Linked DNA regions of Homo sapiens: all the other regions are linked to region 1. The links are contacts of gene promoters, found by promoter capture Hi-C in human tissues and cell types (Jung and others, 2019). All regions are on one chromosome and are shown on one strand. The core of a region is centred on a gene start or on the middle of the fragment in contact, and the rest is flanking DNA. Distances in the headings are between cores, read along the strand shown. Region 1 holds the start of CRYL1 (crystallin lambda 1). Region 2 has its middle 13 kb from the start of LINC00367. Region 3 overlaps LOC105370101 (a long non-coding RNA gene). Region 4 overlaps GJA3 (gap junction protein alpha 3). Region 5 overlaps GJB6 (gap junction protein beta 6).

What was found. Contacts are between HindIII fragments. The study calls those that stand out against the background at their distance.
Region 2: a contact is called between a fragment that was not itself captured here and the fragment with the promoter of CRYL1 in region 1, in 2 of the 25 tissues and cell types used here (heart right ventricle and spleen).
Region 3: a fragment that was not itself captured here is called in contact with the fragment with the promoter of CRYL1 in region 1 in 1 of the 25 tissues and cell types used here (mesenchymal stem cells).
Region 4: a contact is called between a fragment that was not itself captured here and the fragment with the promoter of CRYL1 in region 1, in 2 of the 25 tissues and cell types used here (heart left ventricle and thymus).
Region 5: a fragment that was not itself captured here is called in contact with the fragment with the promoter of CRYL1 in region 1 in 1 of the 25 tissues and cell types used here (mesenchymal stem cells).

Annotation. Positions count from the first base shown.
Region 1 is chr13:20,524,274-20,527,378 of GRCh38, reverse strand. It overlaps CRYL1 (crystallin lambda 1), which reads left to right and starts at 1,522. Exons shown (of 8, transcript NM_015974.3): 1 at 1,522-1,625. The coding sequence starts at 1,585. RefSeq lists an enhancer at 1,007-1,116 and a silencer at 1,297-1,846. The HindIII fragment of the contact is 16,444 bases long and covers 1-3,105 here.
Region 2 is chr13:20,960,409-20,963,513 of GRCh38, reverse strand. It overlaps the pseudogene RPSAP54. Among named protein-coding and RNA genes, the nearest start is that of LINC00367, 13 kb to the right of the region's middle. The HindIII fragment of the contact is 5,622 bases long and covers 1-3,105 here.
Region 3 is chr13:20,110,601-20,113,705 of GRCh38, reverse strand. All of the region lies in intron 1 of LOC105370101 (a long non-coding RNA gene), which reads left to right. Among named protein-coding and RNA genes, the nearest start is that of LINC01072, 9.5 kb to the right of the region's middle. The HindIII fragment of the contact is 5,033 bases long and covers 1-3,105 here.
Region 4 is chr13:20,139,427-20,142,531 of GRCh38, reverse strand. GJA3 (gap junction protein alpha 3) reads left to right here. Exons shown (of 2, transcript NM_021954.4): 2 at 1-3,105. The coding sequence ends at 551. Among named protein-coding and RNA genes, the nearest start is that of GJA3, 20 kb to the left of the region's middle. RefSeq lists an enhancer at 471-972. The HindIII fragment of the contact is 4,756 bases long and covers 1-3,105 here.
Region 5 is chr13:20,226,813-20,229,917 of GRCh38, reverse strand. It overlaps GJB6 (gap junction protein beta 6), which reads left to right. Exons shown (of 5, transcript NM_001110219.3): 4 at 169-338. Among named protein-coding and RNA genes, the nearest start is that of GJB6, 4.0 kb to the left of the region's middle. The HindIII fragment of the contact is 5,423 bases long and covers 1-3,105 here.

The sequences.
Region 1 (3,105 bases), core at 273-2,772:
ACACATAAATAAATAAATATATAAACACACACACACACACACACACACACACATATATATACACACACACTAGAGATGCGGGGGGGGGGGTTCTCACTATCTCGCACAGGCTGGTCTCAAACTCCTGGCTTCAAGCAATCCTCCTGCCTCAGCCTACTGAGTAGCTGAGACTACAGGCGGCACCAGCCTGGATAAGTTTTTTAATTTTTTGGTAGAGACAGGGGTCTCGCTTTGTTGCCCAGGCTGGTCTTGAACTCCTGGCCTCAAGCTATTATTTACTACTCAGCTTCCCAAAGCGCTGGGATTTCAGGCATGACTTTGCAGGGAGCAGCAAACAAGCCAGTCTGCTGCCCCCATAGCCTCCGGTAGTGAGCAGTCACAGGATGCTCACTCCCTGGGTGCCTTGATTATTATATTGGCTGCCTGTGTAACTGACTACAGAAACTGCTCCATCAGAAGATGGAAGCTTTGGAGCCTTGTATTCTCAGCCAGAGCAGGCGCGGTTGCTCAGGCTAGCGGCTGTCTCAACAATGTACTGTAACATTCCCTCCAAAAAGTCCTCAACATTTAAGCTTGCCTTCTACTGTGTGTAAGTTGCATGTCCGAAACACTCCATTACGGATATGGGAATATAATCAATCCATGTGACTTAGCCAATCTGATGAGTGAGAGATGACTTATCTTCCTTGTGTTACTTTTCATTTCTCTTGAGGTTGAATACTTTACAAATATTTATCGATAATTTGTGAAACTGTTCTTTAAAAAACAAAACAAAACAAAAAAACCTAACCCCTCCCCTGAGATTTCTCTTTCCACGTTCCTGACTCAGGGGAAACAAAGGAAGACTTCCTTTTATCATCTCAGTGTTGGCTGCGGTTCCAGCTTGAGTACTGTCTCCTCTGTCTAATGACTGTGTCATTTCCCGTTCAGCTTGTGCTGTGTGGACGCACACCACTGTCAGGCAATGTGTGATGCCCCTTCCTCTTGGTCTGTTCCGGGCTCCAAGAAGGCCAGGAGTCAGGGCACGAGGGCATTTCCTTTTTCTGATACATAAACCGAGTGCAGAGTGTGCTCCGTGGAGGAATTCAGACGTGTCCTTCCGTAGCGCAGATGAACGCATCAGGTGTTCTCTTTCACTGCTGTCGCAGTCCCTGCGCCCAGTTCGCAGTTGGCGGCAGCGGCAGGCGTCTTTCAGAGACGAATTAGCAAAGGGGACATTCTCTGACAGTTTCTCTAGGGTGCTTTAGCGCTAGAGCCCGTGCCAGCCTGCCCGTGTCCCCTCCTATAGACACGGACTTCACGGTGAATGCTGACAGTCACAAGCGCGTGGTCTTCCCGCTTTCCACCCCCCGACGTGCCCCCGCGCTGGTCCTGCCCCTGCCCACGAGGGTCGGCGCGCCGTGTGTCTCCCGGTGTCTCGGGCCCGCGGCGCGCACCCCACTCAGGGACCAAGCGGCCCTCCCCGCCCTCCCGGTCCGCGCGCGCAGCCAATGGGCGCGGGACCCGCCCTCCCCGGAGCCCAGAGCTCGCAGCTCCGCCGGCGCCTGGTCCCAGCGCCCGCGGCGCCGCGTCCCCGGCCCAACCATGGCGTCCTCCGCGGCCGGCTGCGTGGTGATCGTTGGCAGGTAAAGGGCTCCGAGCCGCGCTGCTGCCCCTGGAGCCCGGGGAGACGCCGGGGACGTGGTGCCCTCGCGTGGGGCCCTCGGGGTGGGCGCCGGGTCGCTGTCCCCGCCCCGGCCTCCGGTCCTCCGAAGCCCTGCGCCCTGCGGCCCCTACGGCGCTGGCGGGCTCGGGGAGAGGCGCGGCTGGAGGGGCTTGGCAGGTGGAGGCGCCCCGCGGAGTTGGGTCTGCTTCCCGGGAGCCAGCGTTGCAGGAGGTTCCGAGGTTGACCGCCCAGGCCGCGGGGCCTGCGGTTCCTGGACTCTGTTGAATGTCGCCGCGTCTGCCCGCAGGTCCACATAGAAGTGCCAGGCACCGTGTTGAATGAAACGAATTCTGGCTGCGATCCTGCGACGACTGTGTTCTCATCCCCATTTTACGAATGAGAATACTGAGACTAAGCAGTTTACCTAAGGTCACAGGCGTTTAGTGACGGAGACAGGACTAGCCCAGCAGGGAGGGTGCCAGCGCAGTCCTGTCGGCGACGATGTCGCTGGAGGCCGCAGCAGGTGTTAGGCGAACATACACGCAGTCCTAATTCCTGGGCGAGGCGATGTTTCCAGAGGGGAGGTGGGGGCCGATGGAGCCCAGAGAGTTTGCTAAGTGTGTCCATTTAACAGCTTAAATTCTGCCCAAACTGATTTTTAGTGTGTGCTTCCCCCACCCCGCCCCCCACCCCTACGGTTACAATCCTTGCTATTTTTGTTTTTTAAAAAGGGGCATTTGTATGTACCTTTCTTTGGCCAGCTGTTAGCAGCAATCTATAAACATGTTAATACTTGCTATTGATAGTTAAAAGCACCTTTTTGGTGACTGCTGTTGAGGTGTTGGCCTGCCCCCGACTCCGCCCCCCATCAGTGTACAACCCGGTGTGGAGACCACTTCCAATGTCAGGGTGTTTCCTTCCCACTGAAGGAAGGCATCAGATTCCTTGTTGTCAGCTTTCTTTTCTCCAGAGCAGTGGAGTTAACTGTGCCTTTGTTCTTTCTGGCCCATGAGTGCCCGTGGTTGAATAGTGAAGGCATATTAAAAAGTGCACTTTGGGCCGCGCGCGGTGGCTCACCCCTGTAATCCCAGCACGTTGGGAGGCCGAGGCAGGCGGATCATCTGAGGTCGGGAGTTCGAGACCAGCCTGACCAATATGGAGAAACTCCGTCTCTACTAAAAATACAAAATTAGCCGGGCGTAGTGGCACATGCCTGTAGTCCCAGCTACTCGGGAGGCTGAGGCAGGAGAATCCTTTGAACCCGGGAGGCGGAGGTTGCGGTGAGCCGAGATGGTGCCATTGCACTCCAGTCTGGGCAATAAGAGCGAAACTCCGTCTGAAAAAAAAAAAGTGCACTTTGTACCAGTGGTGGTAGTTACCTCTGTCTTGCATTTTATTAATAGTTACCAGAGTTTATGTGTGTGTGTATATATATACACTCACACATATATATACACACA
Region 2 (3,105 bases), core at 194-2,693, 440 kb before region 1:
CTGAATAGGTTAATCTTCAGAGTTGGTGGTTTCTAAGAACTTGGGGGATGCTGGGGTTGAGCTGTGCTCTTATTCTATTAATACATAGATTTTCCTGGGGGGAAAAAGCATTCCGCTAACAAAACAAGTTTGAAAACCATGGTTTTGATGATTGGTATGTCTTTTTTGTTTAAATTTTTTTTTAATTTTATAAACATAATAAATATACAGTTTTTTCAAGTTAGATTACTAAAAAAAAGTAGTCTCTGTGCATCCCTTGCCATTTCCTGCTCTGCAAACACAAACACTCTCATCTCTTCAGAGTTATTTCTTCTGGCATCTTCACTATAGGCATTTATTGATATTTCTTGATTTACTTATTTTAAATATTTTATATTATCTTCATATTGTGGTCATTCTCTTTTTTTTTTTTTTTTTTTTAATGAGACGGAGTCTCGCTCTGTCACCCAGGCTGAAGTGCAGTGGTACGATCTCCGGCTCACTGCAAGCTCCGCGTCCCGGGTTCGCGCCATTCTCCTGCCTCAGCCTCCCGAGTAGCTGGGACTACAGGCACCCACCACCACGCCCGGCTAATTTTTTGTATTTTTAGTAGAGATGGGGTTTCACCGTGTTAGCCAGGATGGTCTCGATCTTCTGACCTCATGATCCGCCTGCCTCGGCCTCCCAAAGTGCTGGGATTACAGGCGTGAGCCACCGCGCCCAGCCTGTGTTCATTCTCTTATATTCCCTGCCCCAAGTTCATTTCCCTATGTAGTTCTATCACAATTTTTAGTTAAGTCAGTTGTCAGTGTAAATATTATTGACTATGCTAAAGTACTCTTTGAGCCAAATCATAGATTGTGATTATAGTTTCTCATTTGTACAAAATTTGTTTCCTCTTGGACTTTTTACCTTATTTCTTATATATTTTTTTTTTTTTTGAGATGGTGTGTCTTGCTCTGTTGCCCAGGCTGGAGTGCAATGGCACAATCTCAGCTCACCACAACCTCCGATTCCCAGGTTCAAGGGATCCTCCTGCCTCAGACTCCCAAGTAGCTTGGATTACAGGCGCCCACCACCACGCCTAGCTAATTTTTTTGTATTTTTTAGTAGAGACAGTGTTTCTCCATGTTTGTCAGGCTGGTCTCAAGCTCCTGACCTCAGATAATCCACCTGCCTCAGCCTCCCAAAGTGCTGGGATTACAGGTGTGAGCCACTGCGCACGGCCTCCCTTATTTCTTTCATTTGCTTTGTTTTCTTTTTTTTTTTTAGAAACTGATGTTTATTTTCCATCAACCATTTTTCCATGCTGCTTAAGAGCCTATGCAAGAACAGCTTAAGACCAGTCAGTGGTTGCTCCTACCCATTCAGTGGCCTGAACAGTGGGAGCTGCAGACCAGTCTTCCGTGGCAGGCTGAGCGCTCCAGTCTTCAGTAGGGAACTGCTGAATAGGCACAGAGGGCACCTGCACACCTTCAGACCAGTCTGCAACCTCAGGCTGAGTAGCAGTGAACTCAGGAGCTGGAGCAGTCCATTCACCCTGAAATTCCTCCTTGGTCACCGCCTTTTCAGCAGCAGCCTGCTCTTCTTTTTCAATCTCTTCAGGATCTCTGTAGAAGTAGAGATCAGTCATGACCTCCCATGGGTGTTCACGAGAAATGGTGCCACGCATGCGCAGAACTTCCCGAGCCAGCATCCACCACATCAAACCCACTGAGCGAGCTCCCTTGTTGTTGCATGGGATGGCAATGTCCACATAGCGCAGAGGAGAATCTGTTACACAGAGCAATGGTAGGTAGGTTAACATAAGACGCCTCCGTGAGAGGCTGGTGGGTCAGCCCTGGGGTCAGTAACCACAAGAAGCCGTGGCTCCCGGAAGGCTGCCTGGATCTGGTTAGTGAAGGTTCCAGGAGTGAAGCGGCCAGCAATTGGAGTGGCTCCAGTGGCCGCAGCAAACTTCAGCACAGCCCTCTGGCCAGTATTCCTGGAGGATATAACACTGACATCAGCAGGGTTTTCAATGGCAACAATAGCACGAGCTGCCAGCAGAAGCTTCTCCCAGGTCTTCTTCAGATTTATGATATAGATGCCATCACTTTTCCTTTTATAGATGTACTGTTCCATCTGGAAGTCAAGATTGGTGCCACCTAAGTGGGTTCCTGCTGCAAGGAACTTAAGGACATCCTCCTCCTTCATTTGCAGGACATCAAGGGCTCCGGACATTGTGAAAGTTTCCCTTTAAGTTACGACCGGAATCCAGAACAACGCCCTATGGACCCCTCTGTAGGTAGCGCGGAAAAGCGCTTTGTTTTCTTTGAACCTACAGAGGTTTTTTTCTTTCTATTTTCTGCAGTGGATCTGTCAAACACCAGGCTGTTTGTTTCCTGGACAGCAAATGCCGTCCGCCCTCTCCTGCAGTCTGGACTGGCAGCTCTCCAAACCTGACAGACAGCTGTCACCTTGGGAGTTCTCTTTGTCACTTTCCTGTATTGGAGTGCATTTTTGTCAAATGCTGTATCTTCCTTTTTCGTGATTTGCTCTTGGAAACATTTTGAGTTCTTGCTTGTATGAAAATGTTCCTCTTCTACTTGACTGAAAATATGAGAGGGCATAAAGTTCTAGGATAAAAACTAGCCCTGCATTTTGAAGTTACCAGTGCTTTACTTACCTGCTTCCAGTGCTTCTGTGCGAGTCGAATGCTGTCCTGACTCTCAAGCCTGTGTGAGCGATCCCCCCGCTCTTTTTTTTCTAGAAGCAGTTAGGATCGTTTCTGTATACCCAGTATTGTACATTTCATGATGATGTTCCTTGATACAGTTTGTTTTCATTTATTGTACTCATCACTCTCAAAGCTTTCAACCTAGAGACTTGTGGACTTCAGTTCTGGGAAATGTTCTTCTATTACTTCTTTAACCATTTCCCCACACTGTTCTCCAATCCCTGTCGGTTATATTGGATCTCCTCAATGGACCCGCTGGTATTTGTTTATATCCTATCATCCATGTCTCTTTTTATTCCACTTTTTGGAAAGTTTCATTGACTTTTTCACTCAGGTTTTTTTTTTTTTTTTTTTTTTTTTTTTTTTTTTTTAGACAGAGTCTTGCTCTGTCACCCAGGCTGGAGGGC
Region 3 (3,105 bases), core at 452-2,951, 410 kb after region 1:
GGGACATTATTCTGCCTACCCCAGCATCCAAAGAACCAAAGCAAAGGCCCACAAAAGCGCAAGGGAGGCCGCCTTAATTTCTACAGCCCCCAAACTACACCGGCTCTTCCCAGAAAGCTGGCTCCCTGCTTCGCTTTGCTCAGCTGCTGTTTGGCCCTCCTCTCTGTTCTGGATCCCTGGACGGCAGGTGTAGGAAGCACTATTATTAGTAATACAGATGTTGGGCCCTTTCTCATGCTCTGATCTGCTTTCTAGGCTGATTTAGAATACAGATGTGCATTCCATTGTCCCCCCTCACCAGCCGCTCAGGTCTTCCAAGAACAGTGTTTTCTCCAGGGTGGGCCCAGGGGCTGTGCAGGTAGAGGCCTTGCTGCTCCTGTGTCCTCTCTCCCTGCCTCTGTCTCTCCCTCTTCCTTCCCTTCTCCTGTTCCTAGCTTTCTGTCAACTCTTCTGCTCCCATCATCAGAGTTGAGATGCAGTGCGGTAGAGTCCAGGAACATGGGCTTCGGACCTGAAAGCCCCACATTTGAATTCGAGCTCTTGGACGTGATCTAACGTCTCCAGGTTTTGTTTTTTCCTCATAAAATGCACAGGGATAATAACCGCACCTGCTGGGGTGTCACGGGAACCAAATGCCCCAACACCTGCGAAGGTGGGGGCAGAGCCGCCTCATGTTTAAGGGCCCCCTCCATCCTGGCTCTCCGCTTACTCAGTGTGTGGACTTGGACGTGACATTGAAAAGTTCTGTGTTTCCCTTCCTTCAGCTGTCAACTAGAGTTTCATACTTCATGACGGTGTGGTGAGATTGGTACTCAGAAAACATGCAAAATGGTGATACAAATTATATAAAATACAAACACAAATTATAAAAAATACAAATGATACAAATCAAAAATGCACAGACAAGATATAGTTTCAGGTTTAGCCAGACACAGTGGCTCACACCTGTAATCCCAGCACTTTGGGAGGCCAAGGCAGACGGATCACTTGAGGTCAGGAGTTCGAGACCAGCCTGGCCAACACAGCAAAACCCTGTCTGTACTAAAAATACAAAAATTAGTTGGGTGTAGTGGCAGGTGTCTGTAATCCCAGCTACTCGGGAGGCTGAGGAAGGAGAATCGCTTGAACCTGGGAGGCAGAGGTTGTGGTAAGCGGAGATCGCGCCATCGCACTCCAGCCTGGGCAACAAGAGCGAAACTCTGTCTCAAAAAACAAACAAACAACAACAACAACAACAACAACCACCAAGAATTTCCCAAGTTCTAACACCAGTGCCTCTTCTGACTTGCCATGTTATTTTCAGAGTCAGCCACTTCACATGGCAGGATCTCATTTCCATAAATGGTGGGGATTGGGAGGACGGGGAATGTTGGCTTTACTGCCTACAGGTGGAAAGGGGACCTAGCGAAGACCTCCATGCCCATCTGTGCTCCAGGTAGGCTGGGACTGAATCTGCCTGGACCACGGCTTACCATGCAGTAGGCACTTAATGGTGATCAAATGCATGAATGAATGAATGAATGAAACATTGGATTCTGGCTGAAACTTCATCTGACACAGATTGGAGCATCAGAGAAAAGTTTAGTCCTTTGCCAGGGCTGGAGAATTCTGTTTTTTTTTTAATTATTTTTTATTTATTTATTTATTTATGAGCCAGGGTCTCACTCTGTCATCCAGGCTGGACTGCAGTGGTGCTACCATGGCTCACTGCAACCTCCCGGGCTCAACGGATCCCCCCACCTCAGCCTCCCGAGTAGCTGATACCACAGGTGCGTGCCACCGTGCCCGGCTAATTTTTCGTATTTTTGGTAGAGATGAGGTTTGCCATGTTGCCCAAGCTTGTCTCAAACTCCTGAGCTCAAGCGATCCACCCACCATGGACTCCCAAAGTGCTGGGATTACAGGTGTGAGCCACCGTACACGGCCATTTTTTTTTTTTTTTTTTAAGAGACAAGGTCTCTCTCTGTCACCCAGGCTGGATTGCAGCGGCACGATCACTGCAGCCTTGACCTCCTGGGCAAAAACAATCCTCCTGCCTGGAACTCTCAAGTAGTTGGGACTACAGGCGTGTGTCCTGAATTCCTGGTTTTAAGTGATCCTCCCACCTTGGCCTCCCAAGTTTTGGGATTACTTGGTGTGAGCCCCTGTGCTTGGCTTCTTGTTTTTCTTTTTCTTTTCTTCTCTCTCTCTCTTTTTTTTTTTTTTTTTACTTTTCCCACATTTGTATGCCAAATGTGTATGTAGTCATTACCACAATCAAATCAAGAACATTTCTGTCACCCCGAAAGTTTCCCTGTGCTCCTTGTCAATTCTCCTTCACTGTCAGGCCCAGGCAATCACTGACCTGCTTTTGGGCACTATCACCTTTTTGGAACCTCATGTAAGTGGGACTATACTGTATGGACTCCTCTGTGGCTGCCTTTTTCACTCAACTCATGTTTCCAAGATTTATCTCTGCCGCCGCAGGCTGCAGTCCTGTGTCCCTTTTCATTGCTGGGAGTCCCATTGTGTGCACATTCACCTGCTCACGAGCTTTTGGGTAGTACATTACTCAGGGCTCTCCAGAGAACAGGATTAATAGGATGCAGCTGGGTAGGTGGCTAGACGGAGATTTATTCTAAGGAAGTGGCTCATGTGATTATGGAGGCTGGAGACCCAGGAGAGCCAATGTTGTCATTCTAGTCCGAAGGCCGGTAGGCTTCAAACCCAGGAAGACCTGATATTTCAGCTGGAATCTGAAATCAGGGAAAAAACCACTGTCCCTGCTTGAAGGCAGTCAGGCTGGAGGAATTTCCTCTTGCTGGCAGGAAGGCCAGGCCAGCCTTCGATCTCTTCAGGCCTTCAGCTGACTGGCAGGGTGGGGTCACGTCAGGGAGGCCGTCTGCTTCACACACCTGACCTCAGATCCAAATGTTCATCTCATCCAGAGACACCCACACACACACCCAGGATCAGGTTCCAACAAATGTCTGGGCACCCCTTGGCCCAGTTGAGTTGACACATAACATTGGCCATCACAATTTGGACCAGCGTGAGCATTTTTACAAGACTGTGGAGACGCATGTTGTCAGGTCTAAGAGTGCAGTGATTGAGCTGTATGGCAAG
Region 4 (3,105 bases), core at 1-2,500, 380 kb after region 1:
CGCCCCTGCCCCCCAGCTCCCGGCCGCCCGCCGTTGCCATCGGGTTCCCACCCTACTATGCGCACACCGCTGCGCCCCTGGGACAGGCCCGCGCCGTGGGCTACCCCGGGGCCCCGCCACCAGCCGCGGACTTCAAACTGCTAGCCCTGACCGAGGCGCGCGGAAAGGGCCAGTCCGCCAAGCTCTACAACGGCCACCACCACCTGCTGATGACTGAGCAGAACTGGGCCAACCAGGCGGCCGAGCGGCAGCCCCCGGCGCTCAAGGCTTACCCGGCAGCGTCCACGCCTGCAGCCCCCAGCCCCGTCGGCAGCAGCTCCCCGCCACTCGCGCACGAGGCTGAGGCGGGCGCGGCGCCCCTGCTGCTGGATGGGAGCGGCAGCAGTCTGGAGGGGAGCGCCCTGGCAGGGACCCCCGAGGAGGAGGAGCAGGCCGTGACCACCGCGGCCCAGATGCACCAGCCGCCCTTGCCCCTCGGAGACCCAGGTCGGGCCAGCAAGGCCAGCAGGGCCAGCAGCGGGCGGGCCAGACCGGAGGACTTGGCCATCTAGTGCCCGGGTGCCTGCCTCCAGACAGCTGTGTAGTGATCTTTTTCTTAGAAACCAAAACCAAAGTGCACTTCCCACCAGCAGATAGAACCTGAAAGTCCCAGGAGGTGGGAGCGACTGGAGTCCCAGGAGGTGGACGATGGAGGAGAGATCAGGTTTCCGTGTTCAATGCTTGCTGTTCTTAGCACTGTGAGTTACAGTGGGGATAACTCCCACTTTCTGAGTTTGGGGGTGGCGGGGACAAGGGTTGTGGGCCTTTAAGATCTTCACAGCAGCCCAGAAATCTGGTCGCTGAGGGCTGTCTCTGGGGGTAACTGTTCTGTAGTGGTAAAGCAACAGGTATCCTGCAGTCCCTTTAGCTCCTGGGCAATTGGGTTTGCTATTCCTAAGCTCTCCAGAGCCTCTGGGCGGCCCAGAGGGTCTTAGCTCTGGGCCAGAGCACTTAGCTCTATCTCTTTGATACTTTTAACTTAGAGTTGAATTTCATTTGGGATATTTGCCAAACTGCACTAAAAAAAGATTTACAGCAAGTCTATGTAGTGTCATTTGAGTTTCCGAAATTGCATGTGAAGCCCAGGATATCAAGCTTCAGGCCTCATGACAAGTGACAAAGAGCAGTTGCCCTCCAGAGGCAGGCTCAGTGGGCAAGGGCCCCAGAGGTTGCTGGCAGAAGGCAGGTGGAAACGCAGCCACGCCTGAGGCCATTTTTAAACAGTTGAGGAAATTGACATAAAAGTGTGTCGGGTATGCCGTAGGTATTTATTTTCTAAATGATTATTTTGTGCTTTGAATGGTGCAGCTATGCCTATTTTCTCCCACTTTCTTTCAGGAAAAATGAAAGAAAAATAGTGTTTTTCTTTCTTTAAATACTGTTAGAATGATTGCTGACCAAGACAGTGCTAATTTGCCCTAATGCATGCTACTAGCATCTTTACTAAAGATTTTGAACTTTCTTGTAAAAGAAATTCTTTAATTTCATGAGTCACCTAATTATAATGAGAATGTATTATATAAAACAAAAGCAGGGGAAAGTTTTAAGTGCATTCAAATAGAAGTTCTGAAGATTTTGAATGGGAAGTGAAAAGTGAACTACTGTTGCCAGGAAAATTATTTATACAGATGAATCTATGACAATCTACACTTTTAAAAAGTACAGAATAAAACACTTCAAGCTTCCTAATCATTCTTTGTGGGCAGCCTGTTTGCTTTCTCCAGTGTAAATAATATAAGTGTCTGGGGATCCCTGCCTGGGGGAGGGCGCGTGCTCATGCAGGCTGTATGCCCCATTCTGCCTCCACACCAGAGCTGTCCTGACAGGGAAGGCTATTTATGTGTGTGGGCATGGCTGGAAGACGGCAGAATTTTCTGTCCTGCACACACAGCTGTAGTATCTTGGTCACCATTTGTTTATAAAATGAACGATGGTCATGTTGAGCCTGTTTCTACTCACACTTTTCACCTCCAACTTCTACTGAGTATCATTAGCCCTTGTTCAGCGAGACCAATGTAATACATTTCTTTTTATAAATTAACTTCTCGATGATGCATTTGGGACCACACTCCAAACATACTTTCTGTTTTCTATCATAAAGGGTGCTCCACTAACAATCTGATGAAAGGAATGCAATTTCCAAGTCTCAGATTCTTGCATGCAACTAGTTTTTCATGTCAGTCAAACACAAAGAATTTGTTAGTACATTCTGCTTGCTGTAGGATGCACTGGACAGGCTCCTAGGCTTGAAAAATGCTAACTTTTCCATACGTCTCCTCAGAGACTTTCTCAACCAGATTGACAAGAGAGAAATTAGCCCTTTGGAAAACTGTGAGTGACTTTCTCACTCCTCTCCAGGCTGGTGCATAACTACAGCCATTCTAGATGCATAACTTCTCTCCGAAGTTCACTCATTACATGCAGTGTATGCCATAGGCCTAGGGCAGCAGGACTTAGTTCTTGTGAGTGATAAGGGCTGCTAGAAGATCCTAGTGTGAGAAGCATTCCGATAAAAAGCTTTGGCCATTTTAGAAAATGCAATAGCAATCATCCAAGAGCACAAGTACAGCTCAAGTACAAGTGGATGTCAATACTTGGTTCTTTAAGTTCTACCATAATAAATGTTCATAACAGTAACAAGCTTCTTATTTACCCACAATTTGATTTTGAGTGGGGTTGGAGATGAGCATGAGAACTCAAATTGTATCTAGTTTTTACATTTTAAAATTGAATTTAGTCACAATATGTTTATGGAAATGCCAGTATTGTACCATTGACCATAGTCTAGTGGGTCCATTTAGAGTGGATAGGAGTGTAGAATTAGATTCACCTACTTGAAAATCACTAATCTATAAAGAAGTGAGGTTTTGCAATAGAACAGTGCCTGTGGTGTTTTTTCAGGTTAGCATACTGATTTCAGTTCATGTAAGAAATGAACGCATGTTTCACATCCTTTTGCTCTTTGAGGTATCCATGATTCTAAAGGCTGGGTCCTTCTCTCTCAGGCAGTGTGGAATTGTTCTCTACTCAACTAGTCCTTTAAGACATTGAAACATGCAATAAAAA
Region 5 (3,105 bases), core at 1-2,500, 300 kb after region 1:
TTCAAAGCATAGAGCATCAGGAAGCTGGCAATTTCTGAACTTACCTCATAACAGTTCTGGGAATGAAGAAAAACTACCCACAAAGTTTATTCAGGGGACATATTGCGGGGGGCGGGGGGGGGGGGAGTTAAAGGAATATGGCAACAGCTACTATTTTTCCCTCAACAGGCGACATCCTCACTGACCGAGCAAAGATTGACATTCGTATCATCACTGTGCACCATTGGCTTCTAGGCACTCCAGTGGGGTAGGAGAAGGAGGTCTGAAACCCTCGCAGAGGGATCTTGCCCTCATTCTTTGGGTCTGAAACACTGGCAGTCGTTGGAAACAGGACTCAGGTTTGCTTGTTTTGCTTTGATATTGTTTTCCTTTTATCTATGCAGACTCCCCGACTATCCAAAGCTAACTTCGAAATTGGGAGGCACATGTTCCTGTTCTCAGATCTATCAACTACTCCCTAGATGGCCAGGCGCGATGGCTCATGCCTGTAATCCCAACACTTTGGGAGGCCGAGGCTGAGGTCAGGAGTTCAAGACCAGCCTGACCAAGGTGGCAAAACCCTGTCACTACTAAAAAAAAAAAAAAAAAAAAAAAAAAAAAAATTAACCAGGTATGGTGGCATATGCCTGTAGTCCCAGCTATTCAGGAGGCTGAAGCACAAGAATCACTAGAACCGGGGAGGCAGATGTTGCAGTGAGCTGAGATTGCACCATTGCACTCCACCCTGGGCAACAGGGCAAGACTCTGTCTAAAAAAAAAAAAAAAAATTTTTTTTTTTTTTTTTTTTTTTTTTTGCTAAATGACATTGAAAGGGGAACAGAGCTATCTAGAAAAATATGCTGAGGGGTTACACTCTAACTTTGGGGGCTTTAGTTTTGGTTCTGTCATTAGTGAAATTATAATGGCATAGATAAATAAGCTAGTTGTGATTAATTTCCTAAGAAGTTTTAAAACAATCAAGAAATTTCATTAGTGCAGTCAAATGCCAATAGATCTAAATTATTTGAATTGTAAAAGGAAAGAACAACCTATCTTCACAATGCTGTGTGGATCCTCAAAAGTAAAGTCCATGGTTTACTTATTTTTAGAGCTAGATATTTCAGACTGGAGCTTTAGTATCAAGAATATAGCATGGGCCGGGCGCGGTGGCTCATGCTTGTAATCCCAGCACTTTGGGAGGCCAAGGGGGGCGGATCATGAGGTCAGGAGATCGAGACCATCCTGGCTAACACGGTGAAACCCCGTCTCTACTAAAAATACAAAAAATTAGCCGGGCTTGGTGGCAGGCGCCTGTAGTCCCAGCTGCTCAGAGAGGCTGAGGCGGGAGAACGGCGTGAACCCGGGAGGCGGAGCTTGCAGTGAGCCGAGATCGTGCCACGGTACTCCAGCTTGGGCAACAGAGCTAGACTCCATCTCAAAAAAAACAAAAAACAAAAACAAAAAACAAAAACAAACAAACAAGAAAAAACAGCATCGAGTTCTTCACTATGATTACATTTACTACAAAACCGAACACAGTTTACCTTTTTAAGTTTAAATGTAATCACATTCTTAGAAGTTGAAGACTGCAGAAGCTAAGCGTATCTATTCTTTCCTTAAAAGACAGCCAGAGAGGCATCAGTTAAAATGAACCTCTCTGGTTTCCGAAGAAAGAGTTAATATTTCACTTTGTATTGAAAAAGCTCCTCCCATTGGCTCCAGCCCTCCAGAAGCAGGAGAGGAAAGAGGTACTTTGTTTACTACAGTTGCAAAGGGTCCCAGTGGATGCGATGATTTTGGAAAGTAATTTGAAATTAGTGACGACTTCACAAATTGAAATAGCCTTCAAATCTTCTCCAACCAAGAGGGTTTGTGAAAGATTATGCCCTGTGGTTATGTGTTTTTACAAGGGAGAACCTGGGGGCTGGGCGCTTTCTTTGCCACCCCCAACCCACAACATCCTTCCTCTGGGCCCCTCTGCAGTCTGTCCACCCACCCTGTCCACCCACCAAAGTCAGGACAGGAGCAGTCAGTGGAGTTGAGTCCTCCTTAAAACTTGCTGAGTCTCCTGCGTTTACTGCCATCCTCCCACCGCTCCTTGAATGGGAGCGTCTCCTGGGGCAGCCAGGCCTGGCCAGTAATGGCAGCAATGTGCTGGAAATTTGGGGGCTTGATAACCCGCAGCTGACCCATCACCCTGGCCTATCTCTTGACACTTGCGAGGGGAGCTCTCTTCTCCCTGGCTGTTGGCCTGCAGAGAATGATACGCACGGCAGATCCCCGGAGCTGGTTGGTGAGCCCCTCAGGTGTGACACAACCTGGAAAAGAATGGAAAGAGCCACTGTCTCACTGTCTCAGTTGGGAAACACCAGCTCAGGGTCACTGAGCACCCAGGGGCAGCCCACTCAGGACCGGGCAGGTTCGGAGAGAGGACACAGCTTCTCCCTTGGATCACTTCTGCTGTTAGGAATAACAGGGCCTTTGTGGCTCTTGCAGGAGGACACTCTGAACCAGGAGACTGTCCTGAGTGACCGGGGAGTTAGACACACTTGTATTGGATTTAACCTCATTTTTCTCAGCAAGCTCGGCATCTCCTTTACTTTTCTTCCTTTAAAGGCATAGGTGGATTGCCAATTTTTAGTACCGGTATCGAGAAGCGCGCATTGTGAAACAGATTATATTCTGTTCAGTTTTGCTATGTTGATAGAACACCCTCAGACCGTGTGGCTTGGGGACCCAGAAAAATCCAAAGAAATTTAAAAAGCTACTGCCCTTATAATTGTCCCTGTTTTTAGAAAAAAAAAACAGGGAGAAGCCCAAAGCTGCAGAGGTCAGGGACCCTGCTTCTAGAAAGCGTGGACCAGTGTTCCTGGGGGGGAGTTGTGACCTCTTGACCTTTTCTGTGACTTTAGCCTCTCAGAATCATCCAGGCCATGTCCCCCTCTGGCTCCCTGATCTGTTTACTTCCTAGAAGGTTGGACCACAGGGGACCACGGGGTGCCGTTGTTCAGGCAGGCCACGGGCTAGAGAACCGAGAGAACACAGCTGTCTCACCTGCTGGGGAGGTTAAATTCTATGGACTTTGAAGTGTTGGAGAAAATGTGAACCATTTTTTGATAAATCAAA